Regions from separate parts of the Homo sapiens genome. Here region 1 is linked to region 2. The links are contacts of gene promoters, found by promoter capture Hi-C in human tissues and cell types (Jung and others, 2019). All regions are on one chromosome and are shown on one strand. Each heading gives the region's core, a stretch centred on a gene start or on the middle of the fragment in contact. The rest is flanking DNA. Distances are from core to core; before and after follow the strand shown. Region 1 overlaps PTGIS (prostaglandin I2 synthase). Region 2 holds the start of KCNB1 (potassium voltage-gated channel subfamily B member 1).

Evidence for each region. Contacts are between HindIII fragments. The study calls those that stand out against the background at their distance.
Region 1: a contact is called between a fragment that was not itself captured here and the fragment with the promoter of KCNB1 in region 2, in 1 of the 25 tissues and cell types used here (aorta).

What each region holds. Positions count from the first base shown.
Region 1 is chr20:49,528,107-49,534,484 of GRCh38, forward strand. The region is part of intron 5 of PTGIS (prostaglandin I2 synthase); the gene reads right to left. Among named protein-coding and RNA genes, the nearest start is that of PTGIS, 37 kb to the right of the region's middle. The HindIII fragment of the contact is 6,504 bases long and covers 1-5,237 here.
Region 2 is chr20:49,477,560-49,484,058 of GRCh38, forward strand. It overlaps KCNB1 (potassium voltage-gated channel subfamily B member 1), which reads right to left and starts at 5,109. Exons shown (of 2, transcript NM_004975.4): 1 at 4,355-5,109. The coding sequence starts at 4,921. The HindIII fragment of the contact is 16,129 bases long and covers 1-6,499 here.

The DNA.
Region 1 (6,378 bases), core at 736-3,235, 47 kb after region 2:
TCCAGCCTGGGTGACAGAGTGATACTCAAAATACAAAAGAATTTGAATTCCAAGGTTTCAGTTACCCATGGTCAACCATGGTCCAAAAATATTAAATGAAAAATTCCGGACATAAACAGTCATAAGTTTTAAATTACATGCTGTTCTGAGTAGTGTGTTGAAATCTTGTGCCATCCTGCTCTGTCCTGCCTGGCAAAAAACACAGGATAAAAATATAGCAGTGGGCTGGGTGCAGTGGCTCACTCCTGTAATCCCAGCACTTGGGGAGGCCGAGACGGGCAGATCACCTGAGGTCAGGAGTTCGAGACCAGCCTGGCCAACATGGTGAAACCCCATCTCTAACAAAAATATAAAAATACAAAAATTAGCCAAGCATGGTGGTGGGCGCCTGTAGTCCCAGCTACTCAGGAGGCTGGGGCAGGAGAATCGCTTGAACCCAGGAGGCAGAGGTTGCAGTGAGCGGAGATTGCACCACTGCACTCCAGGCTGGACAACAGAGCAAGCAAGACTCTGTCTCAAAAACAAAAAAAATATATATATAGCAGTGATTGGATCATGGATCAAATCAGTTTACATTTGTATATCCCTTAGAGCAGTGTAGAGGACACACTAAACCTTACCCAAGAGTTATCTATTGCTGTGATATATTGTTAGCACAAAGCAAAGTGCCAGCAACCACGTGTTTAGTATGCATTTGTGGAAAAAAAGAAAAATAAGAATATAGTCACATTCACTTGCACTTGTGTGAAGGAACTCTAGAAGGATCCATTTGAAACTAATAAAACTAATCAATTATGAGCAGTGGGAATTGGTGGAAGGGGATGTGACAAGAAAAGGAAGGAGACTTACCACTGTTATTACTTAATTTTTTTCCAGCCTTGCTGAGGTATAATTGACAAAGGAAAATTCTTATTTAAGTTGTACAACATGATGTTTTGATACACAAATATGGTGTGAAATGATTGCTGCAATCAAGCTAATTAGCATATCCATCACCTTACATAGGTGCACACTCACACGTGCATGCATGGTGAGAATACTTAAGATCCACTCTCTTAGCAAATTTCAAGTATACAATACATTGTATACTTGTATATTAAATCTCCAGAACTTATTCATTTTATAACTCAAAGTTTATACCCTCAACCAACACACCCCCATTTCCCCACCTCCTGAGCCCTGGTAACCACTGTTCTACTGTTCCTCTGAATTCAACTTTTTTAGCTCCCACGTATAAATGACATAATGCGGTATTTGATTTTCTGTGTCTGGCTTATTTCACTTACAATATTGTCTTCCAAGTTCATCTATATTGTTACAAATGGCAGGATTTCTCCCTTTTTATGGCTGAATAACATTCTTTCGTGGATTTACATACACAGCAGTCCTGTCTTATCCAGTTTCACTTTCCAAGGTTTCCATCACCCATAGTCAACCATGGTCCAAGAATATTAAATGAAAAACTCCCTAAGTTTGAAATCGCACACCATTCTGAGTAGCATGATGAACTCTTGTGCCATCCTGCTCCATCTTGCCTGGGGGGTGAATCATCCCTCTGTCCGGTGTATCCACACTGTAGACCACACCTGCCCATTAGTCACTTGGGAGCCACTGTCTCAGTTATCACGTCAACTGTCATGGTATGGTAGTACTTGTGTTCAGGTAACCCTTATTTTGTTTTCATTACAGTATATCGTTATAATTGGTTTCATTTTATTATGTTGTTAATCTCTTACTGTGCCTCATTTATAAATTAAACTTTATCAGGCCAGGCATGGTGGCTCACGCCTGTAATCCCAGCACTTTGGAAGGCCGACGTGGGCGGATCACCTGAGGTCGGGAGTTCGAGTCCAGTATGACCAACACAGAGAAACCCTGTCTCTACTAAAAATACAAAATTAGCTGGGTGTGGTGGTGCATGCCTGTAATCCCAGCTACTCAGGAGGCTGAGGCAGGAGAATCGCTTGAATCTGGGGGGCGGAGGTTGTGGTGAGCCAAGATTGCACCATTGCATTCCAGCCTGGGAGACAAAAACGAAACTCTGTCTCAAAAAAAAAAAAAAAAAATTAAACTCTGTCATAGTTATGTATGTATAAGACAAAACAGTATATACAGGGTTCAGTACCACCCATGGTTCCTGACATCCACTGGGGGTCTTGGAACATATCCCCTGAGGTTAAGAGGGGGCCATTGTACCACTATCTCTGTATCTGTTCATGCACTGATGGACACTTAGTTTGTTTCCATGTCTCAGCTGTTGTGAATAATGCTGCAATGAATTGGAGGTGCAGACATCTCTTCAAGACAGTGATTTCATTTCCTTTGAATATATACCTAGAAGAGGGATTGCTGGATCATGTGGTAGCTCTATTTTTGATTTTTTAGGAACCTCCATACTGTTCTCCATGATGGCTATACCAATTTAAATTCCCACCACCAGTGCGAAAGAGTTCTCTTTTCTCCACATCCTTGCCAATATTTGTCATCTTTTGACATTTCTAACGGGTGTGTGGTGATATCTCCTTGTGATTTTGATTTGCATTTCCCCAATGAGTAGTGATGTTGAACACCTTTTCATACCTGTTGCCATTTGTATGTCTTCTTTGGGAAAAATGCCTATTCTGGTCCTTTGTCCATTTTGCAGTCAGGTTATTTGGATTTTTGTGTTTTTTGAGGCAGAGTCTCGCTCTGTCGCCAGGCTGGAGTGCAGTGGCGTGATCTCGGCTCACTGCAACTTCCACCTCCCGGGTTCAAGCAATTCTCCTGCCTCAGCCTCCCGAGTAGCTGAGACTACAGGCGTGCACCACCACGCCCAGCTAATTTTTGTATTTTTTAGTAGAGACAGGGTCTCACCATATTGGCCAGGATGGTCTCGATCTCTTGACCTCGTGATCTGCCCAACTCGGCCTCCCAAAGTGTTGGGATTACAGGTGTGAGCCACCGCTCCCAGATGTTATTTGGAATTTTTGGTATTGAGTTGTATGAGTTCCTTATCTATTTTGGATGTTAACCCCATATCGGGTATGTGGTTTGTAATCTACTTTACATTTTTAATGTTTAAACCACGCGAAATAATTTTTAAAATAAAATAATAGAAAATCTGGCAAACCCCCCAAAAATAATTTCCAGTGAAACATCATATACTGTAGAGATTCAAGGAATTCAGTGCATATGGGAGTGAGGAAGAGAAGATTCTGGAAAACTGAGCTTGGTGGCTCAACCTGGGGCCCTGCAGATGAGCAAAGCTGTGTAGTTAAAGGGGGAGTCTGCATAAAGCCCCCTCCTGAAATGTGGTCGTGGGAAGAAAGCAAATGTTCGAAATGGTTACAGCACATTTATACAATTCACTACAGACGTTCAACAAAACAGATACGGAGAAATGCAACTATTTACTTCCATTCCTAATTATTTCAATATTTAGGTTGCCCCAAAAATCAAAAAAAGACAAAATTTTAAAAATCTTCCCACTGGGAAAACAGAGGCTTGCTGTCTACTTGGGATTCCAGTACAATTTGCTATTTTGTTGTTTTTTTTCTTTTGAGACAAGGTCTTGCTCTGTCACTCAGGCTGGAGTGCAATGGCGTAGTCTGGCTCACTGCACCCTCAACCTCCTGGGCTCAAGTGATCCTCCCACCTCAGCTTCCTGAGTAGTTGAGACTACAGGTGTGAGCCACCACAACTGGCTAATTATTATTATTATATTTTGTAGAGACAAGGTCTGTCTATATTGCCCAGGCTGGCCTCAAACTCCTGAACAAAAGTGATTCTCCTGCCTTGGCCTCCCAAAGTGCTGGATTACAGGTGTGAGCCACTGTGCGCAGCCTCATGCTGTATTTTAATGTCTGCATAAAGGCCAAGTGTTGTTCTGGGAAACAGAGTAGCCGCAAGCCCCAGGGAGTTATGGAGCATTTGAAATGCGGCTGGCTCGAATGCAGCCACATTTAATATAGGGTAGGGGAGACACTGGATTCCAGAGTCAGCATGAGAAACAAAATGTAAAATATCTTATCAATAATTTTAACATTGGTTAATGCTAAAATGCTAATAATATTTTAGATGTATTGGCTTAAATAAAATGTATTATTAAAATCGATTTCACTTCTATTTTTCTTTTTTAGTGTGTCTAATAGAAAATTTTAAATTACAAATGTGATTCCCATTATTTGTCTATGTACAGCACTGTTCTAGAAGGATAACAGCAAACAGATAGCAATAGTTACCTGGGGATAGATTTAGAGGGAATGTGGTCAAAAGAGAATTTTCCTTTTTGAAATATTTGATTTTTTTTTAACAAAAGTCAGAGGAGCCCAGTTAAGAGGCCCAGTGCTGTAGCAGAGTGCCTGACCTTGAACAAGTCACCTCACATCTCAGCATCTCAGTTTTCTTGCCTGTAAATTGGGATAATAAAAGTACCCACCACAGAGGGTTATATACAGATCAAATGCGTTATTAACATCTAAAGCACAGAGATGACTGACACAGTCCTAATAAACGCTATATTATTAAATAACAAATCTTACTGAATGTTAGCAAATTATTAGCCCAAGGAGAACATGTTCATGAATTGCTTCTTTAATTAAGAAACAATAATAAATTGCGAAATACAGAGCACAAAGTTTGAAGACAGAGAGCATTGAAATCCCAGCTCTTCCCTTTCTAACGAGATGACCTTGGCCAAGTCACTTTGCATCTCTGAGCCTCAGTTTCCCCCATGTGTAAAATGAGGGCCATCTAGCTCATAGGATGGTCAGGAGGATTCAGAAAGATCACACACAGAACACACTTGGTATCGGTAGAAGTTTGTAAAATGCTACTTGCTACATTCTCTCCATTATTACGAGGTATTTCTTATTGGTGTGATAACCGGATGCCATGAATGAGGGCTGCCAGGCCCACGGTGATTGGCAGCCCACCAATTTAAACCAGATTGGTGTATCTGGTTTAAATCCCAGAGTCCCCATGCTATGTAGCCTCGGCTGAGCCCCTGCCCATCTCTGGACCTCAGTCTCCTCATCCAAAAAATGAGGACCCAGACTTGAATACCTCTCAAGTTTTTTCTGGGAAAGCCCTCTAGGCCCTCTAGATTTGGGGGCATAGTACAGAGAGGCCCCCAGAAGACACATGTCTTTAAAGTCTTGTGTTTTACCTTTGAAATGCATCAGAGTTTTGCATCAGACTCTGTGATTCTTTGATATAAGAATGCCTTTTTCCCCAAAACAATGTTCAAATAAACAGCCCCCCAAAATAATCCAGTAAAATAAATGTTCCAGACAGAAGCACTATGCTTAGCTAGGGGGTCTGTTTAACTGTCCCCTGCCCCCAACTCCCTACTGTATGAGAAACACCAGACTCAATGGCCTAAGGGTTCTCAAAGGATTAACTTTCTTTTAAAATATATTTATACTTTAAAAAGTGAAGGAAGAATAATGTATGCATACAGAAAAAAAAGAAGAAAAATAAAGAATCTAAGAGTTCAAGTCCACATCTTGTAAAAAATGATTTTCTCTCCACCCCTTCTCGGCCTTCCCAAAGGCAAAAATCTATACATACTCCCACATTTTTAAAAATGGCCGGGTGTGGTGGCTCACACCGGTAATCCTAGCACTTTGGGAGGCTGAAGCAGGCAGATCACTTGAGGTCAGGAGTTCAAAACCAGCCTGGCCAATGTGATGAAACCCCAGCTCTACTAAAAAAGTACAAACACATTATCCGGGGGTGGTGGTACGTGCCTGTAATCCCAGCTACTCGGGGGGCTGAGGCAGGAGAATTGCTTGAACCTGGGAGGCAGAGGTTGCAGTGAGCTAAGATCGTGCCACTGCACTCCAACCTGGGCAACAGAGCAAGACTCTGTCTCAAAAGCAAAAACATATATATATATATATAAAATGTATGTATATATAGTGATATAGTATACCCTCTGCCTGCAGCTTGCTCTTTTTTGTAACAGTAGATTTCATTCACTACCAGTATGTCCCACTCTGTTTTAGATGCATAGATGGCCTTTAGATGAATGCATAATTTATTTAATCAGCCCTTACTGATGGACTTTAAATTGTTTCTAGCATTTGCAATTATAAGCAATGTGACAATGAATATGTTTGTGTATCTGTAGACATGTGCAAGCATTTATGTAGGATAAATTCCTAGAAGTGGAAGTACAGGATCAAAGGAATGTGCATTTTATTTTATGTTTCAGCAGGTTCTGCCAAAAGAGGCTGCAATGCTTCAAGCACCCCACAGCAATGTTCGGGGGCTGCTTTGCCCACATGCCTCTGGTCCCAATTAAGATGAGAAATCACCGTCCCACATTGCCACCTGCTGCTCATATTGAGAAATGCATCCTTCCTATAGCCAGCCCAGGGCTGCTCCCAGAGTGAT
Region 2 (6,499 bases), core at 3,859-6,358:
TTGAGACCAGCCTGGCCAACATGGTGAAACTCTGTCTCTACTAAAAACCCCAAAATTACCTAGGCATTGTGGTACATGCCTGTAATCCCAGCTACTCGGCAGGAGGCTGAGGCAGGAGAATTGCTTGAACCCAGGAGGCGGAGGTTGCAGTGAGCTGCCGAGATCATGCCACTGCACTCCAGCCTGGGCGACAGAGCAAGACTCCATTTCAAAAACAAAAGAAAGAAAGTGGAGCATAGGAGAAAATGTTTCTCTTCACGGATTAAACATCACTGAATGTACGTCTGAGGGCTGGAACTGGGCAGCCATCTTGTGATATGAAGCATCAAGCATGAGGACCAAGCCACTTGCAGGGGTTGGGGAGCAGAGGAGCAGAGAGATGAAAAGAATCTAGAATCCTGGTGGCATCATTGAGCCATTAACTCAACCTAAAACCAACTGCCTTGGAACTTCATATTATATTCAATGATGCATCTTCCTCCTTATTGAAGCTACTTTGAGTTTTCTATTCTGCTGCTTGCAGCCCAAAGCATCCCTAACTGGCATACTACCTGGTTGTATCCCTGTTGGAGGAATTTCAATGAGATAGCAGATATGAAGCACCACTAATCAGTGCTGGGCACAACAAACATAAGCTACCCTGGAAATTAGGAAGTTATCTCAGGGCTTTAATCCTGAGACTATCCCAGGGATCACAGACACTCCTGGGCTGGCAAATCAGTTCCCTGTCTCTCCTACTGAGAAAAGCCTGTCGAGTTTTCCGAGAAAGCCAAAGCCCCGTGGTAGCCCCAGCACCGCAACCCTGTCACACCAATGGGGCTGTCCCCATCTTCTAAACAAGAATCAATCACACTGCCTTTTGCCTAATGGGTTTTGATTTTCGCTCCCCTGATGGCAAAGCCTAGGGCCTGTGCTTTGGTTTGTCTCCGAGTTGCCAGAACATCCCATCAATTATTAACAGTGTCAGCTCAGTCTCCCTGGCCCTGCTGCTCTCAGAAGGAAAGGGTTTGCAGCAACTCGGCCCACCCAGCCCTAGAAAAAAGACTCTTTTCCTTAGCATTTATAACAACAATCCCCACCTGCTATGTGCTAGGCTTTGAGCAAAATTTTGACAAATGTGATTTAATGAAGACCCTGTAAGGTGAGCCTTTTATCTCCATTTTACAGGTGGAAGGTTGGGACTTGGAAAGTTGGAGAAATTAGCTAAAAGCTATGGAAGTGGGGAGTGGCACAGAACCAGATCCATCCTTGCTCTTCAGCATATGAGATATGGCCACTTTTGTATCTTACAATCACCTAGAAATGATCCTCCATTTGGTCCTGTCACTCTGTGAGTTCTAAGCAATTTCCACAGGCTTTGCTTGTTTTGACAAGCAAGGCATCCAAGCTGGGGGGATGGGTGGGGATGGGATGGGCAAGGTGCAGATGACTCAAAGGAGGCCAGAGGCACAGGGACCTGGGTTGCAGGTGGGCAGTGAGAAGGGGTGACAGGTCCCCAAACCCTGAGACACAGTGACTGACTGCTTGCTTGCTTGCTTGATTCATTCATTCGTTCATTCATTCATTCGTTCATTCATTCATTTATTCATTCCACATGCTCCTCAGTGCCAGGCACCATCATGGGTGCTGGGAATCAAGCAGTGAATCAACTCATGGTACTCACATTCTTGTGGGTGTGAAACAGAGACACACAAAGAAGGAAATATAATTTCAGATGGCGTTTAAGGCCTCTGCAGGAAAGGCATTGCATGATGCAACAGAGAGTGAGGGGAGGGAAACTGTTTAGAACAGCGGTCAAGGAAGGTCTGTATGAGGAGGGGACATGTGAGCAGGGACCTGCTCAAATGAGGAAGGGGGAGAAGGGGCTGGCCAAGGGGGAATCTGGGGAAGAGCATTCCAGGCAGCGGAAACAGCAAGTGCAAGGGTCCTGAGGTCAGATAAACTCTGGCCTGTTTATGGAACAGCAAGGCCAGTGGGGCTGGAGCCAAGTGAACCAGAGGAGATCAAAAGAGATGAGCCCAGAGAGGTCATGGGGGCCAGATTCTGCCTGGGCCTTGTATGCCAGGATGAAAAGTCTGAATTTTATTTTGAGTGTGATGGGAAACTTCTGGAGGATTTTAAGCAGATGAATAATGTGATCCAATTTACATTTTGAAAAGCTCACTTTGGCTGCTATGTGGGGAATGGATTGCAGGGGCAAAAGTGGAAGCCGGGAGACTGGGGAGGAGGCTGCGGCACTTGATCATTATAGAAAGAACACTCGGTTTGGATTTCTGGCTACTCCTGACTGCCTGTGGTGTGACCTTAGGCAAGTTACTTAACCTCTTTCAGCCTCACTGTTTGCGAAAGGTGGGATAATAACAGAGCTGCGTTGTTACACTCCATACACAGTAGGTGTTTGATCATTGGCAGCCAGGATTTCTATTCTGAGGGCCAGTGAGCCTGCCTCCCTCCCCATTTCAGCTCTGGCTACAGAAAATCCTAGATGGTCCATCTGCCAGGAATGTGAGCTGGCAGCCCCAGACTGGGATCATGGAGAGGTCACAAGGCTGTCCCTGCTAGCGGATTAACCCAAGGGAGAGGAGAGGTTCTTTATTCCCAAACAGCACCTCTTGCAAGCCCCGGTGCTTGGGTCTTGCTGCCAGACCAAAACATGGCCCTGTGCCTGCTTCTTCTCTGGGAGGGCAAATTGTCCAGTTCCCTGTACCTTGTTCTCATGTCTTAGGGATGGGACAGGGAGGGAGAGTCACATTTGGGCCTAAATGGGATGTGCAGTGGGAGAACCTGTGTCATGCCTGGAAATAGCAAAATAAGTCTGTTGATCCTAAGCTGATTAAGGGTGAGTGACTCTGTCTTAGGAGGAGGCTTTTTGGACACAAAATTGGGGGCGGGATTATGGAGAGAGACAGCCCACAGCCTCAGAGGAGGAAGCCAGGCCCAGGAGCCTCTACATCCTTGTTAGGGCCAACAGGGAAACGAAAAAAACACGTGGGGGCTCCCTCCACCCTCTTACCAGCCACCCCTTCTCCATCCACTCTCAGGGGCCTCTCCTTGGGTGGCTAGATCTGGAGGAAGGACCCCACGGAGTCTCCCTTCAGACTGGGACCTGCAGGTGGGCCTTCAGTGAGAACTGAGCCGGAGACCCCACAATGAAAGGCTGGGCTGGACAGGAGTCAGCCCTAGCTAGTAAGATATGGCTGGATATTTAGGCTTCCTCCTCTCCTCTTTCTTTTACCACAAATCTACTTACCTGACCCCTTTTTTTAGGCCCCACACTCAGTTACATTCTCCCCATGTTTCCCAAGTTGGTCTTGCTGGATTTCAACATCAACATCTCTCTTTTCTGGGTTCTCCGTGAACCTCACAGAACCTCTTTTATAGCCTTGCACACACTGTTTTGTCATTTGCTCCCAGCACCCAGCACTTCGGGCACATGAAGACAGGCCCCATCTTTCCCAGGCAACCCCAAATCCCAGCCTGACGTAGAGAAGTTGCTGATCAACCAGTGCCCTCCTGCCCTGCCTTGGCTCCCACCCCAAGCCTTCCTCAGTCCCCTACAGCCCCTGCCATTACCCAGCAGCACCAAAGACTCTCTGGCCCACTCTTTGTGTTCAAACTCATTCCTGCCTCCTCCTCCTCCTCCTCCTTTATTTTTCACATTGCCTCATTTTTCTCTCCTATTTTGAAATTTACATCTTGTTCCAAGAGCTGAAACATCTTTACAAGCTGCACCAAACCATTCTGGAAATAAACTCACCAAATAAATAAGTAACCAGGGGGTGACCCCTCACCCGCAAGCATCCACAACCAACTGCATGTGTCGTGTGGGTCCACACCCACCCCTCGGGGTCCCTTCTTACTTATGTTTAAACTATCTGACAGTATCTCAATGTCCTGTAAGCATGTCTGTAAGCTGCTTTTTTCCCTTGCTGGGGCAGAGTGAGGTTATAAATATGGAGATATTAAAATCACAGGGTGATCCAATCCAGCCTAGGTCTGGGACTTCACAGGGAAGCAAACCCTACTCCACCCCAGCAAGCCACTGTTGTCTCTCTGTGCTCTCTCTCTTATTCGTCAGTGTCCATCTTCTTGCTGTGGCTTTTTATGGGTCCCTGTGAAACCTCTCCAACCAAGTAGGGGTATAACGTCTTGGATAATAAAAAGATGGAGTGACCAGTGCCACATGGGAAAAGTCTGAGGGGGTTGGTCCTCACCTCTGGGGACTCAGTCCTAGCCCCTCCCCATTACTAATCTTCATCGTTGGGAACAAAGCCAGAGTCCTCCAGCAGTGGTCCTCAATATGGGGATGCAAGCAGATCCCCCCAGACCAGCAGCCCCCAGATCCCAGACTCACCTTGGCAGCCACAGAGGAATTGGGCTTCTCCAGTAGGTCCCAGAGTTTTTTCCTCTTCTCTGCGCAGCACGTGTTATCGAACTCCTCGCCTTCCCGCTCCCGTAGGGTCTCGGCCTCACGCTTGAGCTCCTCGTTCATCTGCTCTTTCTTCTGGTGGTAGCGGGCCTGGCAGCAGGACTCCAGGTAGATCTCGTCGATGCCCCAGTAGTCGAGCTCTTGGCTGAAGCTGAGCGCGCACATCTCCTCCATCATGTGCAGTCGCCCAGTGCGGTAGAAGTTGAGGATGGAGGTGAAGGCGCCCGGGTGGCGGTCAAAGAAGTACTCGTTGTCGTCGAGGCTGTAGTCATCGCACACCTCGAGCAGCGAGTCGTGCGTGTTGCAGTCGCGGAGCTTGCCCAGCCGCGTGCGGGGCAGGCGGTCCAGGGTACGCCAGAGTACCTCGTGCGCCAGCCCCCCGACGTTGAGGCGGACCCGCCGAGAGCACGCCTTGCTGCGCACGATCTCCATGGGCTCGGGCGGCAGCGAGCTGGTGGAGCGGGAGCCATGCTTCGTCATGCCCGCCGGCATCGCTGATCCGGCCGCCCCCGCCCCCCCTGCCCCCCCAGGCCGCTGTCACTCGACGGCAAGGCCCGCTGCTGCGGGGGAGGGGGGCAGGGAGCGCTGTGGGCTGCTGGGGGTGCAGGGGGCCCCGCGGGCGCGCGTCACGGCCGTCTTCTCACCTCCATCCCGACGGCTGCGAGGCAGAAAGCGAAAGCGGACGCGGGTCAGCAAACGGGGAGCTGGGCATGCTGTCCCCCCGCCCCCCACCTCTCCACCAGGCTCCCAGCCGGCCTTGACCTTCCCCCGCGCTTAAGCGGCTCAGTGGGGTAGGACGGATGGTCGCTGTCCCTCCCGCCGGTGCTGAAGTCCGCCGCACCCCATGGATGGAGGGAGGGGCCGCCCCTCGGGGCGGGGAGAGGGCCCCAAGAGATGCCCCTGGAGCCCGGGAGGCCCCACCCTGGGCTTCTGCGGCCCAGGCGCGACCCAGCCGCCCGGGGCGCTGTCCGCCCCTTAGAGTGCTGAAACTCTCTTCATTATGGGTCTCCCGATCGAGTCCCGAACCTGGCCCCGCCATGGGGAGAGAGGGGGAGCTGCATGAAAACTTTCTTTCTTTATCTTTTTCTTTCTTTCTTCTTCTTCTTTCCTTCTTTTTTTTTTTTTTAACGAGTTCTCTTCTTTTCCTTCCCCTTCTCGAGATAATCAAGATTTTGGGGGTGGGGGAATGGCAGCGGGCTTTTTTCCAAATCTTAAAAGATTTGGGGGAATTCCGGGGGTTCCAGGTGCCCACCTGTCCGAGGTCACAACAGACGGGGTGTGCACAACAGCCCCTCTGTCCTGGAGCGACCCCTCTTCCCAAACACTGGAGCATCTCCTGAGATTGCTCCAGCGACAAGGTGAGCCGCGAGGAGGAAAAGCCCGCTCTCGCCTCTCCCTCTGAGCCCCCAACCCTACCGCAGGAGGGGCGGGCAGAGTCCTCGGGATCCGCCTGCTCCGTCCTCCCCTCGCTCCTTCCCCGCCCCCTTCTCCTCCTTCTCCTCCCCCTCCTCTTCCTTCTCCCCCTCCTCCTCCTCTTCCTCCTCCTCCTCCTCCTCCTCCTACTCCTCCTCCTCGTTCCTCTCCCGCGATGGCTTTTTATAACTCCGGGTTCTGCGCCTTTCCCCGGGCTTGGAAGGGAAGGGGTGGGGGAGGTGGGAGGCGGGGAAATGAGCTAAATTTTCTGGCCTTTTCAAAAGGTGCCATCCTCCTACCGCGCACTAGTGATTTCGGGGGGTTCCCCTGAGCACCCCCTGCATGTAGGGCTCACGCCTTAGCCCCAGAATGGGGATTGCGCGTCCCCTCAGGCCTCAGCCCTTGCCTGCCTCCCACCCCGCTCCCCTCCAGCCTGGAGCTGCGGAGCCCGAGCAGACCAACAGGCCGAGCTGCGGCAGGCAAACCCCCTGTCCGTGTCCCCATGCACCCCCACGGAAGGCCGTACGCCCCAACACTCACCCCCAGGGCGGCCGCCTCCTGGGGCCAGGGACCGCGCATCGTCCCGGCCGCCCGGGCGCCCCCGCCCGTGGGCAGCGGCGGTCCCGGGGCCGGGCTGAGCCGGGCCTACCCCGGCCG